4 separate regions of the Homo sapiens genome follow, and regions 1, 2 and 4 are each linked to region 3. The links are contacts of gene promoters, found by promoter capture Hi-C in human tissues and cell types (Jung and others, 2019). All regions are on one chromosome and are shown on one strand. Each heading gives the region's core, a stretch centred on a gene start or on the middle of the fragment in contact. The rest is flanking DNA. Distances are from core to core; before and after follow the strand shown. Region 1 holds the start of ANKRD9 (ankyrin repeat domain 9). Region 2 overlaps TECPR2 (tectonin beta-propeller repeat containing 2). Region 3 holds the start of AMN (amnion associated transmembrane protein). Region 4 overlaps RCOR1 (REST corepressor 1).

The links. Contacts are between HindIII fragments. The study calls those that stand out against the background at their distance.
Region 1: a contact is called between the fragment with the promoter of ANKRD9 here and the fragment with the promoter of AMN in region 3, in 1 of the 25 tissues and cell types used here (mesendoderm cells).
Region 2: a fragment that was not itself captured here is called in contact with the fragment with the promoter of AMN in region 3 in 2 of the 25 tissues and cell types used here (dorsolateral prefrontal cortex and mesendoderm cells).
Region 4: a fragment that was not itself captured here is called in contact with the fragment with the promoter of AMN in region 3 in 2 of the 25 tissues and cell types used here (H1 embryonic stem cells and dorsolateral prefrontal cortex).

What each region holds. Positions count from the first base shown.
Region 1 is chr14:102,507,025-102,511,766 of GRCh38, reverse strand. It overlaps ANKRD9 (ankyrin repeat domain 9), which reads left to right and starts at 1,991. Exons shown (of 4, transcript NM_152326.4): 1 at 1,991-2,238; 2 at 2,921-3,126; 3 at 3,218-3,292; 4 at 3,825-4,742. The coding sequence starts at 3,878. LOC105370679 (a long non-coding RNA gene) reads right to left here and starts at 1,724. Exons shown (of 4, transcript XR_007064352.1): 1 at 216-1,724. RefSeq lists enhancers at 1-627, 628-1,273, 1,274-1,917 and silencers at 1,398-1,447, 1,608-2,047, 3,042-3,203. The HindIII fragment of the contact is 3,197 bases long and covers 4-3,200 here.
Region 2 is chr14:102,453,576-102,458,123 of GRCh38, reverse strand. All of the region lies in intron 16 of TECPR2 (tectonin beta-propeller repeat containing 2), which reads right to left. Among named protein-coding and RNA genes, the nearest start is that of ANKRD9, 54 kb to the left of the region's middle. The HindIII fragment of the contact is 7,609 bases long and covers 1-4,548 here.
Region 3 is chr14:102,918,817-102,923,934 of GRCh38, reverse strand. It overlaps AMN (amnion associated transmembrane protein), which reads right to left and starts at 1,272. Exons shown (of 12, transcript NM_030943.4): 1 at 1,204-1,272; 2 at 106-224. The coding sequence starts at 1,246. RefSeq lists a silencer at 849-1,048. The HindIII fragment of the contact is 38,072 bases long and covers 1-5,118 here.
Region 4 is chr14:102,649,588-102,654,238 of GRCh38, reverse strand. All of the region lies in intron 2 of RCOR1 (REST corepressor 1), which reads right to left. Among named protein-coding and RNA genes, the nearest start is that of RCOR1, 59 kb to the right of the region's middle. RefSeq lists an enhancer at 472-971. The HindIII fragment of the contact is 4,634 bases long and covers 1-4,590 here.

The DNA of each region.
Region 1 (4,742 bases), core at 742-3,241, 410 kb after region 3:
GCCCAGTGCACAGCCTGGCATCCACTGGTGCCCTTTCACCCTCATTCCACCAGTAGCCATGGAGACGGCTGTATCTCAACTCCAGCCTTCGAAGAGGGCAAGAGAGCAGGGGAGCCTTGAGCCACAGACAGCCCACATGGGCACCATCTCCCCAAGATGTCCCCCAGGGTTTGGGCTCCCAAAGGCCGATTGTTGACTCCAGGACCTTCACTCACTTTGCTCTCCCCACCATCGTACTCAGAGGCATCCAGAACCGGCAGATGGGAGAAGCCCTAGGGAGATAGGCCTAGATACAGGAGGAGACATGTGGAGCTGAGGCAAAGGCGGGTGCGGATGCCAGGCCCAGTGCCCTCTATACCCCTACTCCTGCTGACAACCTGGCTGCTGTAAGCTTGGCAGTTGCCATGGACTCCCTGGGAGAGATGGCGTGGCCTGGAACGTCCCCCGCCCTGAGGTGGGGCAGGGCTGGTGGGGTCTGGTCATCCCCCTGGTGGGTCCATGCATGGCAGCCTGGGCAGGATACATGTGAGTGCCTACCTGGGCTGGGGTGGCCTGACCCTCTCTGGGCCTCACAGCTTTGTCTGCCTCATGGTACTGTCCACCTGGCCTCTCAGGACTGCTCTGTGGCGTGTGTGCTTAAGGGATTGAGCTCGTTGGGCTGGGGACAGAGGCCTGCCTAGGTCTGTTGAGAGGGCCCAGGTAAGACTTCCACCCAGACTGACTGGCTGGGGCACACAGAGAAGCCAGGACAGGGCTGATTGTGTGTGCAGGGGCGTGCCCTCTGGACGAGGCCCCTCCCACCGGGGCGAGGCAGAGGCCTTGCTTGGTTGGAGCGGAGTGGGGGAGTGGGAGGGTCTCCCTGGTGAGATAGTACTGGAAGGGCAGGGACAGCATTCTAGGGAAGGAACCAGAAAGAGCCCCTGCATGGAATGTGGGGATTTCACCATGAGACCCCGGCTGCCTGGCCTCTGAGAACGTGTGTGGGGGGATTCCAGGTGGAAGGTCGTGTCTGGGAGGATGGGTGGGGGGTTGAGCAGTCATTGCCCCTCTCCAGATCTGCGTCCACATCTGTAAAATGGGCCTAGAATTCCCAGCCGCTGGGGGCGAGTGAGGCCATAAATTAGTTGAGATGGACCCAGGCTCCTAAGCCCCCTAGGTCATGACCCCAAACCTTGGAACCCCCGACGGAGACGGTGGGGGTGGCCGAGGCCCAATCGAATCTATCCCGCCCAGATGTGGGAAGAACCGCAGGGCAAACCCCCGGCTTCCCTCCTGGCCGCTCCTCTCTTTGAGGCCACCTCTCTGAGCCCTGATTTGCTGGCGGGTGAACTGGGGATCATCGTGTCCACTGTGGCTGGTGGTCGTGAAACGAAGTGGAAACATGAGTGTTGAGGCCGAGATGGGCGCAGTGCGCGCTCCTAAACAGCTGTCCCCATCCGTCCGCCCCTCCCTCCCTTGCGCGGGTCAGCTGGAGCGGGGGCGCGCCAGGCACGACCCTGGCCGGGCAGAAGGCGGTGGAGCCCTTAGGGGTCGCGGCTCCTACCCCCGGCCCTCCCATGTGCAGATGGGGTAGCAGCCTGGAGGTTTTTCCCAAGGTCACGTAAGGTCAAAGAAAAGGGGAGCTGGACGCGACGAGGAAAGTCACGCACGGCGGAGGGCGGGCCACCTACGCGCGCGCCCGAGTTCGCAGAGCAGCGGCGCCCTCCCGGGCTAGGGCAGCTCGGAGCTCGGAGCCTTTCTTCGCCCGCAGCTCGGGTTCCGGGAGCCCCGCCCCCGCCCATCAACGCCCCGCCCCTTTCGCCACGGCCCCGCCCCTCCTCTCCGTTCTCCCCGCCGGCGCTCCCTCAAGTTTCTCCGAAGTTTTCCGCGGGTCCAGCGGTGCGCCCCGCCCGCCGGCCAGTGACGTAACAATGGTGCAGCGCGGCGGCCAATGGGTGGTGGCGGGGGCCGGCGGCGCGGGCCAATGGCGGCGGCGGACGGTCCCGCTGTCCTGCCTGGCCGGGGCCGCACTGCGCCGCCCGCCGCCCGCCGCCCGCCGCCCGCCGCCGGCGACGGCACCGCCGCCCTGCGATCCGGCCGCGGCGGCTCAGAGCGCGGCTGCGGCGGGCGCGGGCGGCGGTGGCTCCCTCCCGTGCGTCCGTCGTGGGACCTTTGCCCGCTCGCCCGCGGGGGACAGCGCGCGCTCCGGTCCGCGGCAGGGGCGGGGACGCCCGGCCTGTGGCCCCCGCGCCCCCCATGGTGAGTCCCCGTCCCCCGCGCCGCGCCCGCGGCCGCCGCCCCCTCCTCCTCCGGCACACGCGCACGCAGGTGCAGCCCTCGCTGCGCCGGCCACCTGCGCGCGGACGCCCCGCTCGGCCCCGCGACCCTCCGCCGCCCGACGTCTGGCCGTGCAGGCCGGGAGGGGACGGGTAGGAGGTGGCGGGTGGCCCCGGGCGCGGCGCTGCCTTCGATGGCCCAACCCCCTTATTCACGAGCCGCGGCCGTGACTCTGCCCGGTGACGTGGGGAGGCCGAACTTTACGTAACCCGCCCGGCGCCCCACGCGTGCCGGCACAGGGCATATCTGGGGCCCGGAGGCCCAGGCTTGGGGAAGGGGCTCCAGTCACGGTGTTGCCCACGGGCCACAGCCTACCCGCACCGCGCCGCTCTCTTTAACTCAGTTACTGCCAGTGATAGTGACCCAGTCAGTGTGTGTGGACGCGGCCTGCCTTCTGTCCCAGGCCCCTTGTGACCAAGGGCTTACCCTTGAAAGAAGGCAGTAGGGAGGTTGGGACGGAGCCAGAGGTCAGACGCCTAGGCTCAGGTCGGGGCTGGGGACTCAGAGGGCAGGGTCAGGGCCTAAGCTCGATTGCCTGTGGGTTGGGGGTCCCCACCAATTCTGGAATGAGCCCAAACTGAGACGCAGGGGACCTGAGTTCTAGGCCTGGCTCTGCCGTGGCTTGCTGACCTTGGAGAATTGGAGAAGCTTGTGCCCTGCTGGAAAGTGGGATGGCAGTACCCGCTTCATCTAGTAGTCGGGGAGATCAAGAGAGGTATGGGACCTGAAGAGGATGGCAGACTGTGCAGTGCGGTGCACACCGGTCTCCAGGTTGTTTTCACCCTCCTATCTCCTCCCAGGAGCTAACGTGTAAGCAAACATGTTTGGATAGAGGGCTGGTGCCACGCCCCAGGCTCACCCCGCCCGCACAGCCGTCGTCCACCCCTCCCCTTTCTTACAGATAAAGCTGAGGCTCGGCCAGGGACTGTGATATACCCACATCCCCGGAACTAGGTGATCGCGGTGCAGGAACCAGGTAGGTCTGAGTCTGGATCATGCCTCTGAACAGCCCAGGAAGAGGCTCCAGGGGCCTCCAAGTGGTCTGGGGTCGGAGATCAGGGTCAGGGTTGCGCTTGGGCTGGAGAGTGGATTTGCCTCAGCTTGAGATGTGGGCCCAAGCTTTCTCATCCCCTCCCTGGCCTTTTCTTTATTTGGGGTCGTATGAACCTGGCTTAGGTGGGAACAGAAGCTCTTCCAGTGGGTCCCTGGGTTGGAGAGGGGAGGGGAGATTTGAGGGCATGGGCAGCAAGGGCATTTCCAGCAGAGGTGCCAGAGAGCAAGTCAGTTTCAAGGAGGGAGAACAGGTACAGCTAGATCAAGGATGGAGGCGGTGGTTCTGGGCGTCGGAGAGATGGAGCTGTAGGGTGACTGGAAGGGCCTGGCCGAGGCTGGAGGTAGGTACAGGCCTGGTGGGCCAGGACCGGAGGGGCTGTGTGAGGGGCAGAGGGGAGTCCCCGGGCCTCCCCAGTTTCCCCGCGCCTCACCGTGGCCTCTTCCTTTCCCCGCAGGTGTGCCTTCGCGGGATCCATGCCTTGAGGCCCAGGAACGCCCCGCCGCCAGCATGCCGTGGGACGCGCGGCGGCCTGGGGGTGGCGCGGACGGCGGGCCCGAGGCCTCGGGCGCGGCGCGCTCGCGAGCGCAGAAGCAGTGCCGCAAGTCGTCGTTCGCCTTCTACCAGGCGGTGCGCGACCTGCTACCCGTGTGGCTGCTGGAGGATATGCGCGCCAGCGAGGCCTTCCACTGGGACGAGCGCGGGCGCGCCGCCGCCTACTCGCCCTCTGAGGCGCTGCTCTACGCGCTCGTGCACGACCACCAAGCGTACGCGCATTACCTGCTGGCCACGTTCCCGCGGCGCGCGCTCGCACCGCCCAGTGCCGGCTTCCGCTGCTGCGCGGCTCCCGGGCCGCACGTGGCGCTGGCAGTGCGCTACAACCGCGTGGGCATTCTGCGCCGCATCCTGCGCACCTTGCGCGACTTCCCGGCCGAGGAGCGGGCGCGCGTGCTGGACCGGCGTGGCTGCAGCCGCGTGGAGGGCGGTGGCACGTCGCTGCACGTGGCCTGTGAGCTGGCGCGCCCCGAGTGCCTCTTCCTGCTGCTGGGCCACGGCGCCTCGCCCGGTCTGCGGGACGGCGGCGGCCTCACGCCTCTCGAGCTGCTGCTGCGCCAGCTGGGCCGCGACGCCGGGGCCACTCCCTCCGCCGCCGGAGCCCCCGCCTCAGCTCCCGGGGAGCCGCGCCAGCGCCGCCTGCTGCTGCTGGACCTCCTGGCGCTGTACACCCCCGTGGGTGCCGCCGGCTCGGCCCGCCAGGAGCTGCTGGGCGACCGGCCGCGCTGGCAGCGGCTGCTGGGTGAGGACAAGTTCCAGTGGCTGGCGGGCCTGGCGCCGCCCTCGCTCTTCGCGCGCGCCATGCAGGTGCTGGTCACCG
Region 2 (4,548 bases), core at 1,901-4,400, 470 kb after region 3:
GGCGGGTGGATCACCTGAGGTCAGGAGTTAGAGACCAGCCTGGCCAACACAGTGAAACACCGTCTCTACTAAACATACAAAAATTAGCTGGGCGGGGTGGCACAGGCCTGTAATCCCAGCTACTTGGGAGACTGAGGCAGGAGAATCGCTTGAACCTAGGAGACGGAGGTTGCAGTGAGTCAAAAATCAGACCATTGCACTCCAGCCTGGGCAACATGGTGAGACACTATCTCAAAAAAAAAAAAAAAAAAAAAGGGAATTTAGTGGGAGCAGAGGAGCGAAGTTAGGAAGAAGAGCACAATTGGGGGAGGCTAAATTTGATATTGAACAACATCCTCAAATGCAGTCACTGTGTTTCCATTCATTGCTGTGTGCACCCCCTACTGTTGACTTTAACAAATATTTTTAGAGATGGGGTCTTGCTATGTTGGCCAGGTTGGTTTTAAATTCCTGGCCTCAAGCAGTCCTCCCAAAGTGCTAGGATTACAGGTGTAAGCCACTGCACCCGGCCCACTGCTGACTTGTAAAAAATAAATGAAGCACCCCAATTAATTCCAGATAAGTAACACAGGCAGCAGCCATGTCAGCTTGATGACTCTCCTTTACAGTCAATAATCCCCATTCAATGCATGCCACCTGATGACAGCCGCCATGCACAGTCATACACGGGCTCCTGGGCAGACAGCACACCTGCATTCAAAATTTTCACTTAAATAAGTAATTATTAAAAGGTCTCTTGGGTCAGGCGCAGTGGCTCACACCTGTAATCCCAGCACTTTGGGAGGCCAAGACGGGTGCATCAGTTGAGGTCAGGAGCTCGAGACCAGCTTGGCCAACATGGTGAAACCCCGTCTCTACTAAAAACACAAACATTAGCCGGGCATGGCTGTGGATGCCTGTCATCCCAGCTACTCGGGAGGCTGAGGCAGGAGAATCACTTGAACCCAGGAGGCGGAGGTCGCAGTCAGCCAAGATTGTGTCACTGCACTCCAGCCTAGGCAACAGAGTAAGACTCTGTCTCAAACAAACAAAAAGAGAAGTCTCTTGACCTACCTGCTTTTCCTGCAGGACACAGACCATACCTGGAGAGAGCCTAATAACTGAACACCTGGTGCCCCTGGCCTGATGCTCACTGCCCCTACCCTGGCATAGTGAAGGCTGGGGAGGTGGCTGTTCTTTCTAGGGGAGAAACTCAGCTTCAGTGAGATTGAGTCTCAACTTAAGAGTGACAGGGAGGCTGGGTGCGGTAGCTCACACCTGTAATCCCAGCACTTTGGGAGGCTGAGGCGAGCAGATCACGAGGTCAGGAGATCAAGACCATCCTGGCTAACACGGTGAAACCCCATCTCTACTAAAAATACAAAAAATTAGCCAGGCGTGGTGTTGGGAGCCTGTAGTCCCAGCTACTCGGGAGGCTGAGGCAGGAGAATGACGTGAACCCAGGAGGCAGAGCTTGCAGGGAGCCGAGATTGCGCCACTGCACTCCAGCCTGGGCAACAGAGCGAGACTCTGTCTCAAAAAAAAAAAAAAAAAGAGCGAGAGGGAAACAGGAACAAGTCCACCCTGAGTCCAAGATGGCCTCGAGCCCTCCAGTGTTCAGCAGATACTCGTTGAGGGGATAGGTGCGTGTGCAGAGGAACAGCCTGGGAGTCCCGGTTGCCTGTTCACCTCCCTTGCCCCAACACAAAGCTGCCAACCCTGGACTTGCTGCATTCTCTCAGGATGTGTAGGAAACAGGAAAGGAGTCTTAATCTGACATTTCAAGATCAACCAGATAACTCAAATAAACAAAATCTAAAGTTCAGGGCAGGATAAGGACTAAGCGAGGTGGTGCTTTAACAAGAGATGCTGGATTTGTCCTCCCTGTGGCACAAACTGGGGCAACACAAGCAAAAGCCCCACCACCAGCAGCTAACAAAGACTAGAGAGCACCCCCAAGCAAGACGTGTCACAGCCTTAGGATGACCACACCGCCCGGAGATGGCCAACATTTAGACGGGATGCCCCGTGCATCCTCCAGGGGGTTGGGCTTGGGGGTTGCTGCTCCCATTAGAAAGGAGAGGAAACCAAGGCCGGGCATGGTGGCTCACACTTGTAATCCCAGCACGTTGGGAGGACAAGGCAGGTGGATCATTTGAGGTCAGGAGTTCAAGACTAGCCTGGCCAACATGATAAAACCCCATCTCTACCCAAAATACAAAAGTTAGCAGGGACTGTACGTGGTGGCTCACGCCTGTAATCCCAGCACTTTGGGAGGCGGAGGCAGGCGGACCACCTGAGGTCAGGAGTTCAGGACCAGACTGGCCAACATGGTGAAACCCTGTCTCTACTAAAAATACAAAAAATTAGCCAGGTGTGGTGGTGGGTGCCTGTAATCTCAGCTACTCGGGAGGTTGAGACAGGGAGAATTGCTTGAACCTGGGAGGCAGAGGCTGCAGTGAGCCGAGATCGTGCCACTGCACTCCAGCCTGGGCGACAGAGCGAAACTCCGTCTCAAAAAACAAAAAAATTAGGTGGGCATGGTGGCACATGTCTGTGGTCCCAGCTACTTGGGAGGCTGAGGTGCGAGGATTGCTTAAGCCTGGGAAGGCAGAGGTTGCAGTGAGCCAAGATCGTGCCACTGCACTCTAGCCTGGATGACAGAGTGAGACCCCACCTGGAAAAAAAAGAAAGGAGAGGAAATTGCGGTTCAAGGTGACAGCAGCTTGCCCAGAGTCCAGAGCCCGCCTGGGGCCCAGCTCTGTCCTGCCTCTGCCATGAGTCCCCACACCTCTGCCTGTGACCTCCTTGCACCCACTGCTGTCTGATTCATTTCGGGGTCAGCCGGATACTGACATTGATTTGCTAATGATTTTGCAGGCGGAACACAGGAGGTCAGTGAAAACCTGCCCATCCACAGCGACCAGGATCCCCAGGCCATCCCTCTGTTCACACACCCAACCCCTCAATGAGTATCTGCTGAACACCAGATGGCCCAAGGCCATCTTGGACTCAGGATGGACTTGTTCCTGTTTCCCTCACACTCTTGAGACTCAATCCCACTCAAGCCAGGTTTCTCCCCGAGAGAAACCTCCCAGTGAAGCCCAAATACACACCTTAGAGACCTGCACCACTTTGGCCAGCTAGCCGGTGCTGGGAGGACTGGATCGAGCCAGGAGGGAGGCATGAGCTGTGCTGGAGGCAGGAGGCCCAGGCAGGGCTGGCTCCAGCAGTGCAGAACCTGGCATGATGCCCATTCACTCTGAATCCCACCACGGTGCAGCAGCCTTCCTGGAGGGGCTGGGAAGGGGACGTGCAAGGGAAGCAGTTCTGCTTCTCACCCAAATGGTGCAGGTGAACACAGCCTCCCACAGTGCTCAAGATTCAGGAGCAGGGAGAATACACACCAAGCCCTGGACTTTTTACCCTCAGAGGGAACTAGCGGCATTTTCCAGTTAGTCTGGGTAGGAGCTGCTGGAGAATGGCTCAGGACCAGTAGGGTCTCTGAACAAATGAAAGGCTTTCCAGGGCAGGCGGCAGGTCAGTCAGCACCAATGTTCAGGCCACTCTCAGCCTCAGCCTTGTCTATCAGTCACTGTCAGTGATGTGGAGAGGCGGGTGTTCTCAAAAAGCTAGATGGTGACTGGTGGGTCCAAAAGGCAGGTGGGGAGGCCCAAAGCATAAAGAACAAAAGTTGCCCTGGACAAACCTTCAGTCCCCAAGCCTTGGAACAGAACTTGCTTCTTCAGCTGAGTTAGTGTTCAGGGGCCTTTTCAGGCAAAAGAATGGGTGATGTCTACTCAGCACCCTGTAGGAGCCCCCGGGGCTGAGCACACCAACCACTGCCAGGCAGCCTAGGACGATGCTTGCTTTACGGAATGGCAAGAGGCTCTCATCAGCTGGTAGCATACAGACTGCAATGCAGCCAGGGGCTTGGGGAGAAGGGGAACAAGCCCTTCTCTTCCTGCTTTCTTTTTTTTTTTTTTCTTTTGAGACAGAGTCTTGCTCTGTCACCCAGGCTGGAGTGCAATGGCATGGATCTCAGCTCACTGCAACCTCTGCCTACCAAGTTCAAGTGATTCTCGTGCCTCAGCCTCCCAACCAAGTAGCTGGGATTACAGGCATGTGCCACCACACCCAGGTAATTTTTGTATTTTTAGTAAAGACGGGGTTTCACCATGTTGGCCAGGTTGGTCTTGAACTCCTGACCTCAGGTGATCCGCCCTCCTTGGCCTCCCAAAGTGCTGGGATTATAGGCATTAGCCACTGTGCCCAGCCCTCTTCTTGCTTTCTTTCTCCCCATCCTTTTTTTTTTTTTTTTTTTGGTGAGTACATGTGATTGAGTTTTCAAACATTAAATGCTTATACAATTCAAGTCTACCACATAACCAAATGCTGGTTCTAAGTTAAAAAAACTGGGAAGCCTTGCAGCCAGGAAGTTCCTAAGTCAGTCCTGCTGCAAGTGCAGGGCTCATCCGGGCCCTGGGGGCCATCTGCACAACTCCACCTTCAGGCAAACCACACCTATGCTGCCTGATCCACCAAGAATCTACTCAGAGAGAAATCTAA
Region 3 (5,118 bases), core at 23-2,522:
CTGCAGGAAGAAGCTGCCTCAGCCGAGCCGGGAGCAACCCCCACCGGGGCCACACGGTCTCAGGGGTCCAGGCCCATCACCGACCCCGCCGGCGCTCCCAGGCACCTTGTCCGCCGGGAACTCAACGGCGCCGCCGGCGCACGGGGTCCGGTTCTGGCTCCAGTTGGCTGCGACGTCGAAGTCCGTGTTGGGGACCCAGAGTTTGGAGACCGCCTGGGTCAGTGCTGGGGAGGAGGCGACTGAGTGCCCGGGATGCTCTCCGGGATGCTCCCTTCTCAGGGAAGGCCACCCACCCAGAGAAGTGCGGAAGGTCCGCGCGGATCACCCGGGACGCATAGGAACCCCATCCCCGGGGGCCCGGACCCAGACCCTGGTCCCTCCCGGCCAGACTGTGGGCGCCCTGCCCGGGCGCTCTCCAACGGACTTCTACTGATACCTGCAGAGCCCGCTCAAACGCGCCCTGCAGGACGCCTGCCTAGATAGCCTCCCGGCACTGCCCCCAGTTTGCCTGGCGCTGGAGCAGAGGACAGCGTTGTTAAGGACAGTGACAACTGGGGCATGGAGGAGGATGGGGCAGCACAGACCTCTTCTCGGCCTTGGAATCAGGAAGGCTTCCCGGAGGAGTCCTACCTGGGCCGGGAAGAGCTGCGACAGAGCGCAACCCGGTATGAGAAGTAAGAAGGGGCTGGGGGCGGCAGGACCAGGTCAGGCCGGCCCTGAATGTGGTGGGTGGGGTTGTCCTGAGGGAGCCGCGAGGGGTTTAGGGAAGGGGGCGCCAGGGACACGCGCCGGCCTGGTGTGAAGGCGGAGGAGGGCTCAGTGCTCCCTTGGGGACCGGGAAGCTGAGGCGGTCTGCCGAGCCCCGCAGGCGCACACTCGCTGCTCTCGGCAGGTTCTGGGGACCGCGCCCATTTCGCAGACGGAAAAACCGCGAGGGCAGGAGCCGCCGGAGGCCGGGGCTGGCCGAGGTTCCCGGAGCCCCTCCTCTCCTCTCCCGCACCGCCCGATGCACTGGCCGCGCACTTCCGGGCTGCGCACTCGCCAGACGAGGGAGGCAGGGCCGAGTTTCACGCCCCCAACCCTCCAAAGCCCTCCCTGCCCACTCCTCGGAAGATCTTCACCCTCCAGGCCTAGAGCGACCTCGGCCCTGGGTCCTGACAGACCGCTACCGTCCGGGCCCGCACCGGTGTGGTCCCGGCTCACCGCAGAGCTGCAGCCACAGCAGGACCCGGCCCAGGACGCCCATCTCGCCTCGGCTCCTTGCACCCCACCAGGAGACTTTGCCCCACTGGACCCACGTGACCAGGCAGGTCGGGTGGGGGCACCAGGGTCGGTTACACATTTACCTCCAGACCCGCCCAGGGCCGACTCTTCAGGCCCCTGGGAGGCACCTTCTCAGCCTCCCCTTACCCGCCCCTGCAGGGCCTGAACACCTTAGGTTCTCAGGAAGAAGGGCAAAGAAGAAGGGCTTGGCGAGACTGACCTACCCTGTAAAATGGGTGTCTTGCCGGGAGGGGGAATAAACGACCTTTGAATTCACCCCTTTCTCTGTCCTGTGTGCTGCTAGGGCTGAGCTAGTCTGCTCACCATTGGAACTGGGTGTCCACTTCTCCACGCAGTGCCCCTGTCCCATGGGCTGTGGGTGGTGGTTGGATGATAGAAGGAAGATCCTGGATGGAACATGGTATGTGGATGGTATAGGAGGGTGGATTGTGGATGATGGTGGAGAGTAGTGGATGGTGAGTAGGGGACAGCTGATGGACAGCAACATTGATGGTGCATGGTGTACGGCATATGGACGCATGGCAGATGAATGGTAAATGGTTGACGGGGTGGATGGTGAGTGATAGAGGGTGGATGGGTGATGAATGGATGGATGAGGATGGTGAGTGAAAAATGAATGAATGGCCGGGCGTGGTGGCTCATGCCTGTAATCCCAGCACTTTGGGAGGGTGAGGCAGGCGGATCGCGAGGTCAGGAGATCAAGACCATCCTGGCTAACGCGGTGAAACCCCGTCTATACTAAAAATATACAAAAAAATTAACCGGGCATGGTAGAAGGCGCCTGTAGTCCCAGCTACTTGGGGGGCTGAGGCAGAACGGCGTGAACCCAGGAGGTGGAGCTTGCAGTGAGCCACGATCGTGCGCTGCACTCCAGCCTGAGCGACAGAGCGAGACTCCGTCTCAAAAAAAAAAAAAAAAAAAGGAAAAGGAATGGATGGTAATCAGGGAGTGGTGGATGGATAATGGCATAAATGGATACATGGCCGACAGGTAGATCATAAAGAGTGGGTGTTGGCGGGGCACGGTGGCTCACGCCTGTAACCGCAGCACTTTGGGAGGCCAAGGCGGGCAGATCACCTGAGGTCGGGAGTTCGAGACCAGCCTGACCAACATGGAGAAACCCCATCTCTACTAAAAATACAAAATTAGATAGGCATGGTGGCACATGCCTGTAATCCCAGCTACTTGGGAGGCTAAGGCAGGAGAATCGTTTGAACCTGGAAGGCGGAGGTTGTGGTGATCGGAGATCACGCCACTGTGCTCCAGCCTGGGCAACAAGAGTGAAACCCCATCTCAAAAAAAAAAAAGTGGGTGTTAAATGGTGGATGTTTGGTGAGTGATGAATGCTGAATGGATGGATGGTGGATGGTGAATAGATAGATGGTAAATGGATAGATGGTGGATGATGGTTGCATAAATGGTGAATTGTGGATGGAGATGGACGGTGGATAGTGAATAGATGGTGGATAGTGAATAGACAGTGGATAGTGGATAATGGGTGGATAGTAGATGGTGGATAGGATGATAAATGGATGGGTAATGGATGGTAGATAAGTAGATAATGGATAAATGGTGGATGATGGATGGTAGGTGGATGATGGTTGGTGGGTGGTGGATAATGGACAAGTGAATGGTGATGAGTAGATGGTGAATATTAAGTGGATGGATGGGCGGCAGATGGTAGATAGTGGATGATAGATGGTGGATGGTGGATGGTAAGATGAATAGTGGTTGGTGGATGGTGGGTGGTGGATGGTGGGTGGATGGAAGGATGGGTGGTGAATGAGTGAATGGTGGATGGTGAATAGGTGGATGGTGGATGGTGGATGGTGAATGGCCGATGGTGGATGTGAATGGTGATGGGTGGTGGATGAATGGATGGATGAATGGCGAATGGTGGATGGCAGATTGTGGATAAGTGGATGGTGGATGGATGGATGGTGGATGGGTGAATGGGTGGATGGATGAATGGTGGATGGTAGACAGTGGATGAGGGATGATAGATGAATGGTGGGTGGTGGATGAGTGGATGGCGAATGGGTGAATGGACATATAGATGGGTGGATGGATGGATGGTGGATGGTGGGTGAGTGAATGATGGGTGGATGGTGGATGAAGGGATGGTGGATGGTAGATGGGTGGATGTGTGAATGGGTGGATGGATGAATGGACGCTGGATGAGTGAATTGTGGATGATGGATGAGTGGATGGTGGATATGTGAATGGGTAGAGGGATGGATGGGTAGATGGATGGTGGAGAATGGATGGTGGATGAGTGAATGGTGGATGAATGGATGGTAGGTTGTGGATGGGTGGATGGTGAATGTGTGGATGGATAGATGGTGGATGGATGGATAGTGGGAGTGGATGGTGGATGGATGAATGGTGGATAGATGGATGGTGGATGTATGCATGAATGGACGGTGGATAAATGAATGGTGAATGAATGAGTGGTAGATGGATGGAAGGTGATGGTGGATGGTGAATTGGGATAGATGGGTGGTGCGTTATGAATGGTGGATGATGGATGGTGGATGGATGGAAGGTGATGGTGGATGGTGAATGGGGATAGATGGATGTTGGATGATGGATGGTGGATGGATGGAAGGTGATGGTGGATGGTGAATGGGGATGGATGGTGGATGATGGATGGTAGATGGATGGAAGGTGATGGTGGATGGTGAATGGGGATAGATGGATGGTGGATGATGGATGGGAGATGGATGGAAGGTGATGGTGGATGGTGAATGGGGATAGATGGATGTTGGATGATGGATGGTGGATGGATGGAAGGTGATGGTGGATGGTGAATGGGGATAGATGGATGTTGGATGATGGATGGTGGATGGATGGAAGGTGATGGTGGATGGTGAATGGGGATAGATGGATGGTGGATGATGGATGGTGGATGGATGGAAGGTGATGGTGGATGGTGAATGGGGATAGATGGGTGGTGGATGATGGATGGTAGATGGATGGAAGGTGATGGTGGATGGTGAATGGGGATGATGGGTGGTGTGTTATGAATGGTGGATGGTGGATGGTAGGTAGATGGAAGGTGATGGTGGATGGTGAATGGGGATAGATGGGTGGTGCGTTATGAATGGTGGATGATGGGTGGTGGGTTGATATAGTATTTTGTAGAAGGACAGTTGATCAACAGACAGATGACGGATGGTAGATGAAAGCAGATAGTTGGCTGGGCGCGGTGGCTCACGCCTGTAACCCCAGCATTTTGGGAGGCTGAGGATGGAGTATCACTTGAGGTCAGGAGTTCAAGACCAGCATGGACAACATGGTGAAACCTTGTCTCTACTAAAAATACAAAAATGAGCCAAATGTGATGGTGCACATTTGTAATCCCAACTACTTGGGAGGCTGGGGCCGAATTGCTTCAACCTGGGAGGCAGAGGTTGCAGTGAGCCGAGATTGTGCCACTCCACTCCAGCCTGGGCGACAGAGTGAGACTCTATTAAAAAAAAAAAAAAAAAAAAAAAAAAAAAGAGTAGATAGTTGATTGTGGATGGTGAATGGGTAAGTGTATGGATGGCAGCTCACAGATGGTGAATGTTATTGGTGGATGGATGGATAGAAGAGTGATTATGGAAGGATGGTTGATGGATGGTAGATGGTAGTTGAATAAAGGAGAACGAGGGAAAGGGCGGACGGTGGCAAAATGAATCATGGTTGCATAGTGGATGGTTGATGGGTGAAAGAGAAATCGTAGCTGTTGAACAGATGTGTATGTATGGATAGTTGTTGCAATGCACGGTGGGTGAGAAAAAGTTGTGGATTTTGGATGTAGATGGATGGTGGACAAGACCAAATGGTGGA
Region 4 (4,651 bases), core at 1,024-3,523, 270 kb after region 3:
GAGGCGGGCAGATCACCTGAGGTCAGGAGTTCGAAACCATCCTGGCTAACACGGTGAAACCCTGTCTCTACTAAAAATACAAAAAATTAGCCAGGCGTGGTGGCAGGCACCTGTAGTCCCAGCTACTCGGGAGGCTGAGGCAGGAGAATGGCGTGAACCCGGGAGGCAGAGCTTGCAGTGAGTGGAGATCGCACCACTGCACTCCGGCCTGGGCGACAGAGCCAGACTCCGTCTCAAAAAAAAAAAAAAAAAAAAGAAAGAAAGAAAGAAAGAAAGAAAGAAAGAAAGAAAGAAAGAAAGAAAGAAAGAAAGAAAGAAGGAAATACCTGAGATGAGACTAGGTAATTTATAAAGAGAAGAGGTTTCAATGGCTCAAGGTTCTGCAGGCTGTACAGGAAGCATGATGCTGGCATCTGCTCAGCTTCTAGGGAGGCCTCAGTAAACTTATAATCATGGTGGAAGGCAAAGGGAAAGCAAGCACATATAACATGGCCAGAGGAGGAGCAAGAGAGACAAGAGGGAGGTGCTACACACTTTTAGACGACCCGATCGCCCGAGAGCTCACTCACTATCATGAAAATAGCACCAAGGGGGATATCCACCCCCATGATCCAATCATGGGCCCCCACCTCCAACACTGGGGATGACAATTCGACACAAGATTTGGCTGGGGACACAGATTCAAACCACAACTATCAGCTATAAACATCTAACACAAGCCTTTTAGGAACTACTAAAGAATAACACTATAGGCTGCACGTGGTGGCTCATGCCTGTAATCCCAACGCTTTGGGAAGCCGAGGCCAGCCTGGACAACGTGGCAAAACCCTGTCTCTACCAAAAATAGAAAAAATTAGCTGGGCACGGTAGCGAGTGCCTGTGGTCCCAGCTACTCAGGAGGCTGAGGTGGGAGGATCGATTGAGCCCAGGAGGCGGAGGCTCCAGTGAGGCAAGATTGCACCACTACACTCCAGCCTGGGTGAAAGTAAGACAAGTCTCAATTAAAAAATAATAATAGGCTGGGTGCAGTAGCTCACGCCTGTAATCCCAGCACTTTGGGAGGCCGAGGCAGGAAGATCATGAGGTCAAGAGATCGAGATCATCCTTGCCAACATGGTGAAACCCTGTCTCTACTAAAAATACAAAAATTGGCTGGCGCGCGCCTCTAGTTCCAGCTACTCGGGAGGCTGAGGCAGGAGAATCGCTTGAACCCAGGAGATAGAGGTTGCAGTGAGCCAAGATCACGTCACTGCACTCCAGCCTGGCGACAAAGCGAAACTCCATCTCAAAAAATAGTAATAATAAAACTAAAAAATAAAAATAAAAAGAGTAACACTATAAAATTCAACAGCTGGTATTTTCAAACAGTTTTTTATCCACACTCCCCTCAAATCTTCCCGATACACATTCCTCCCATTTTATTTGCACAGTTATACATGCTAAGTATTCATTATTTATCAACAGTAATATTTTTGTTAAGTGGAAGATAGAAAATGTTAAAGCAGGTGGTTGTTACGTATCTATGGGAAAAAGTCAGCTGGGAGGCTGATTCTAGGTGACAAAAATAGAATATGCTAAAAAGAAATGTAGTTTGGAGAATTTTCACCCAAATTAGAGTCTCAATGAAAGGACACAATAAAATACTGAAATACAGATGTGGGTGGATGGTGTAACATTTGAAGGGAACTGTTCAGAAGAACAAGCAGACAGGCAAGCTTAAAAGAAACAAATAATATAATCACCTAAAGAAAACAGGGCGTTTGAGGACACAGAATTAGGTAAAGGAACACTGCCAGAAGACTAGAGGAGAGAGTGTTTGTAATTCACTGCTCAGCCTTTCTTCCATTCACGTAACTGGGCAATGAAGACTTAAGGTGTTCACTGTTAAGTCATTCTTTAACGCAGCAAGCATTTATTTGGTGTAGCATAACAGTCCTGAAATGGAATCCCAGCTCTGCCTAGACTGAAGGAGAGTTCTCTAATCTCTTTAAGTTTCAATTTTCTCTTCTATAAAAATGGAGGAAACAGTTCCTTCTTCAAAGAGATTAAACAGCAAGTTAAAACAAGTAGCAAACGTCTGGTACATAGTAGGAACTTAAAATAATCAATCCAAACACCACAAATAGATTCAATCATAAGGACACTTTTAAGAAATCCAGTTACAAGGCTCATATCTAAAGCAGATTTAGCAAATTAAATAAACAAAAATAAAACATTCCTAGCAATTTCTACTTATTCTAAGCCAATTCAGCATAAAGATCCTCCAGTGTAAGTTCCCTTTTATTTATGAAGCCTACTGAGAATCAATTTGAGAGACCTTCAGCCACAAGAAATCAGGTCTACAGGGCTATCTAAATAATTAGGGGGCCAGGCATGACGGCTCATGCCTATAATCCCAGCACTTTGGGAGGTCAAGACAGGAGGACCCGTTGAGCCCAGAAGTTGCCAGCAGCAGTAGTGAGCTATGATGGTGCCACTGTACTCTAGCCTGGGAAACAAAGCAAGACCCTGTCTCTATAAATAAATAAATAACCCATTTATTTTGCAAGTGTGCTTATTCATATCAATTCACTTCTGGTCAACAAGCCAAAAAATAAGATACATAAATATAAAATAAATCAGTTCACTTCTTCTCTAGTCTCTCAAGCTATTTTCAAATTCTTTTTTCTTTTTCTTTTTTTTTTTTGAGATGGAGTCTCACTCTGTTGCCCAGGCTAGAGTGCAGTGGCGCAATCTCGGCTCACTGCAACCTCTGCCTTCCAGGTTCAAGCAATTCTCCTGCCTCAACCTCCTGAGCAGCTGGGATTACAGGCACCCGCCACCACGCCCAGCTAATTTTTGTATTTTTAGTAGAGACGGGGTTTCACTGTGTTGGTCAGGCTCATCTCAACCTCCTGACCTCATGATCCGCCTTCCTCGGCCTCCTAAAGTGCTGGGATTACAGGCGTGGGCCACCACGCCTGGCCTATTTTCAAATTCTACACCCTTTATTAATAGCAATACTCAGCTCTGAAGGCTGTGAGACCCCTGATTTCCCACTTCACACCTCTATATTTGTGTGTGTGTGTCTTTAATTCCTCTAGCGCCGCTGGGTTAGGGTCTCCCCGACCGAGCTGGTCTCAGCACCAAACATACTGTCAAATTCTTCTAACTAGTCAACAATGTACTGTGCAACAATGTTAGTTTTATTAGCTGCTAGTGAATTAGGAGTTAGTGTTTTAAATGAGAACATTCTCATTAAGATACCTGTATTCTATTATGAGTCTAAGTCTCATTGTCTAATACAGGAATTATTAGTAATAAGATAATTAAGTTATTCAATAAAGAGCAAACCAAATATTTAACATCTAAGAGTAAGTGCTCTAAATCAAGTCCCGTAAGTTTAAAATATCTCAAGTCAGTTCCTAACTCAGTTGGTAAAGAACACCCACAATACCAATGAGAAGGAAGAGACCAATAACTTCAATGTTTATCCCTTTATATATAACAATTGCAGAATAACCAATGTTTTGCAGACACAGGAATTTCACCAAGTATGTGGTACTGCTTCTCCATCAGTAAAATGAGAAGCATGAACTTACTCTCTAGAGTCCATTTAATAGGAAAATTAAGTGGCTTAATCCTGTCTACAACTTTCACGTCTGACTTCCCTTTCCCAACATCCAAGGGAATCCTGTTCTGTCTTTTAACTGAGTGGATGTGGCGAGGTTTGTAGAATGTGTGTGCTTTTTTCCTACTCTCTTCCTCTGATCCTTCAAGCTTTATTAACATACTTCAGAATAGACTAATCTCAGTCATTAAGCACTGCTGATCACTATGATTCCTCCATCCACCCACCCACCCACCCACCCATCCATCCATTTATTGAAGCAGGATCTTGCTCTGTGCTCTGTCCCTCAGGCTGAAGTGCAGTGGCACTCACTGCAGGCCTCTAATTCCTGACCTCAAGTGATTCTCCCACCTCAGCCTCCCAAAGTGCCAGGATTATGGGCACCAGCCACCATGCCCATGGCCACTATGATTCTTTTTTTTTTTTTTTTTGCGGTGGAGTCTCGCTCTGTCGCCCAGGCTGGAGTGCAGTGGTGCGATCTCGGCTCCCTGCAAGCTGCACCTCCCAGGTTCACACCATTCTCCTGCCTCAGCCTCCTGAGTAGCTGGGACTACAGGTGCCCGCCACCTCACCCGGCTAACTTTTTGTATTTTTAGTAGAGACGGGGTTTCACCATGTTAGCCAGGATGGTCTCATCTCCTGACCTCGTGATCCGCCCATCTCGGCCTCCCAAAGTGCTGGGATTACAGGTGTGAGCCACCGCGCCCGGCCCAAGGCCACTATGATTCTTTAAGCTCTCACCTTTCTTCACTGCCTTCATACACAACCAAGTTAGATAACCAATTCATTTTCTTGAGGATCATTCCTAATGCCAATTTCGTCAACCAGATTTTTTACAGTAAACAAAGCCCATTCTAGCTAATATAAGCAACTAAATGGCTCTACAGGAAGGTCATCAAACCAGATTTACAAGCCATGCAACTAGGACAACACCAGAATTACCCCACAGAACTGCTTCAGTGGAGGTCTTAACTGCTGCAGGTGTTAAACACAAGGACACTTGGCAGTGCATAGTGGACACCACCGCTAGAAAACGCTGCC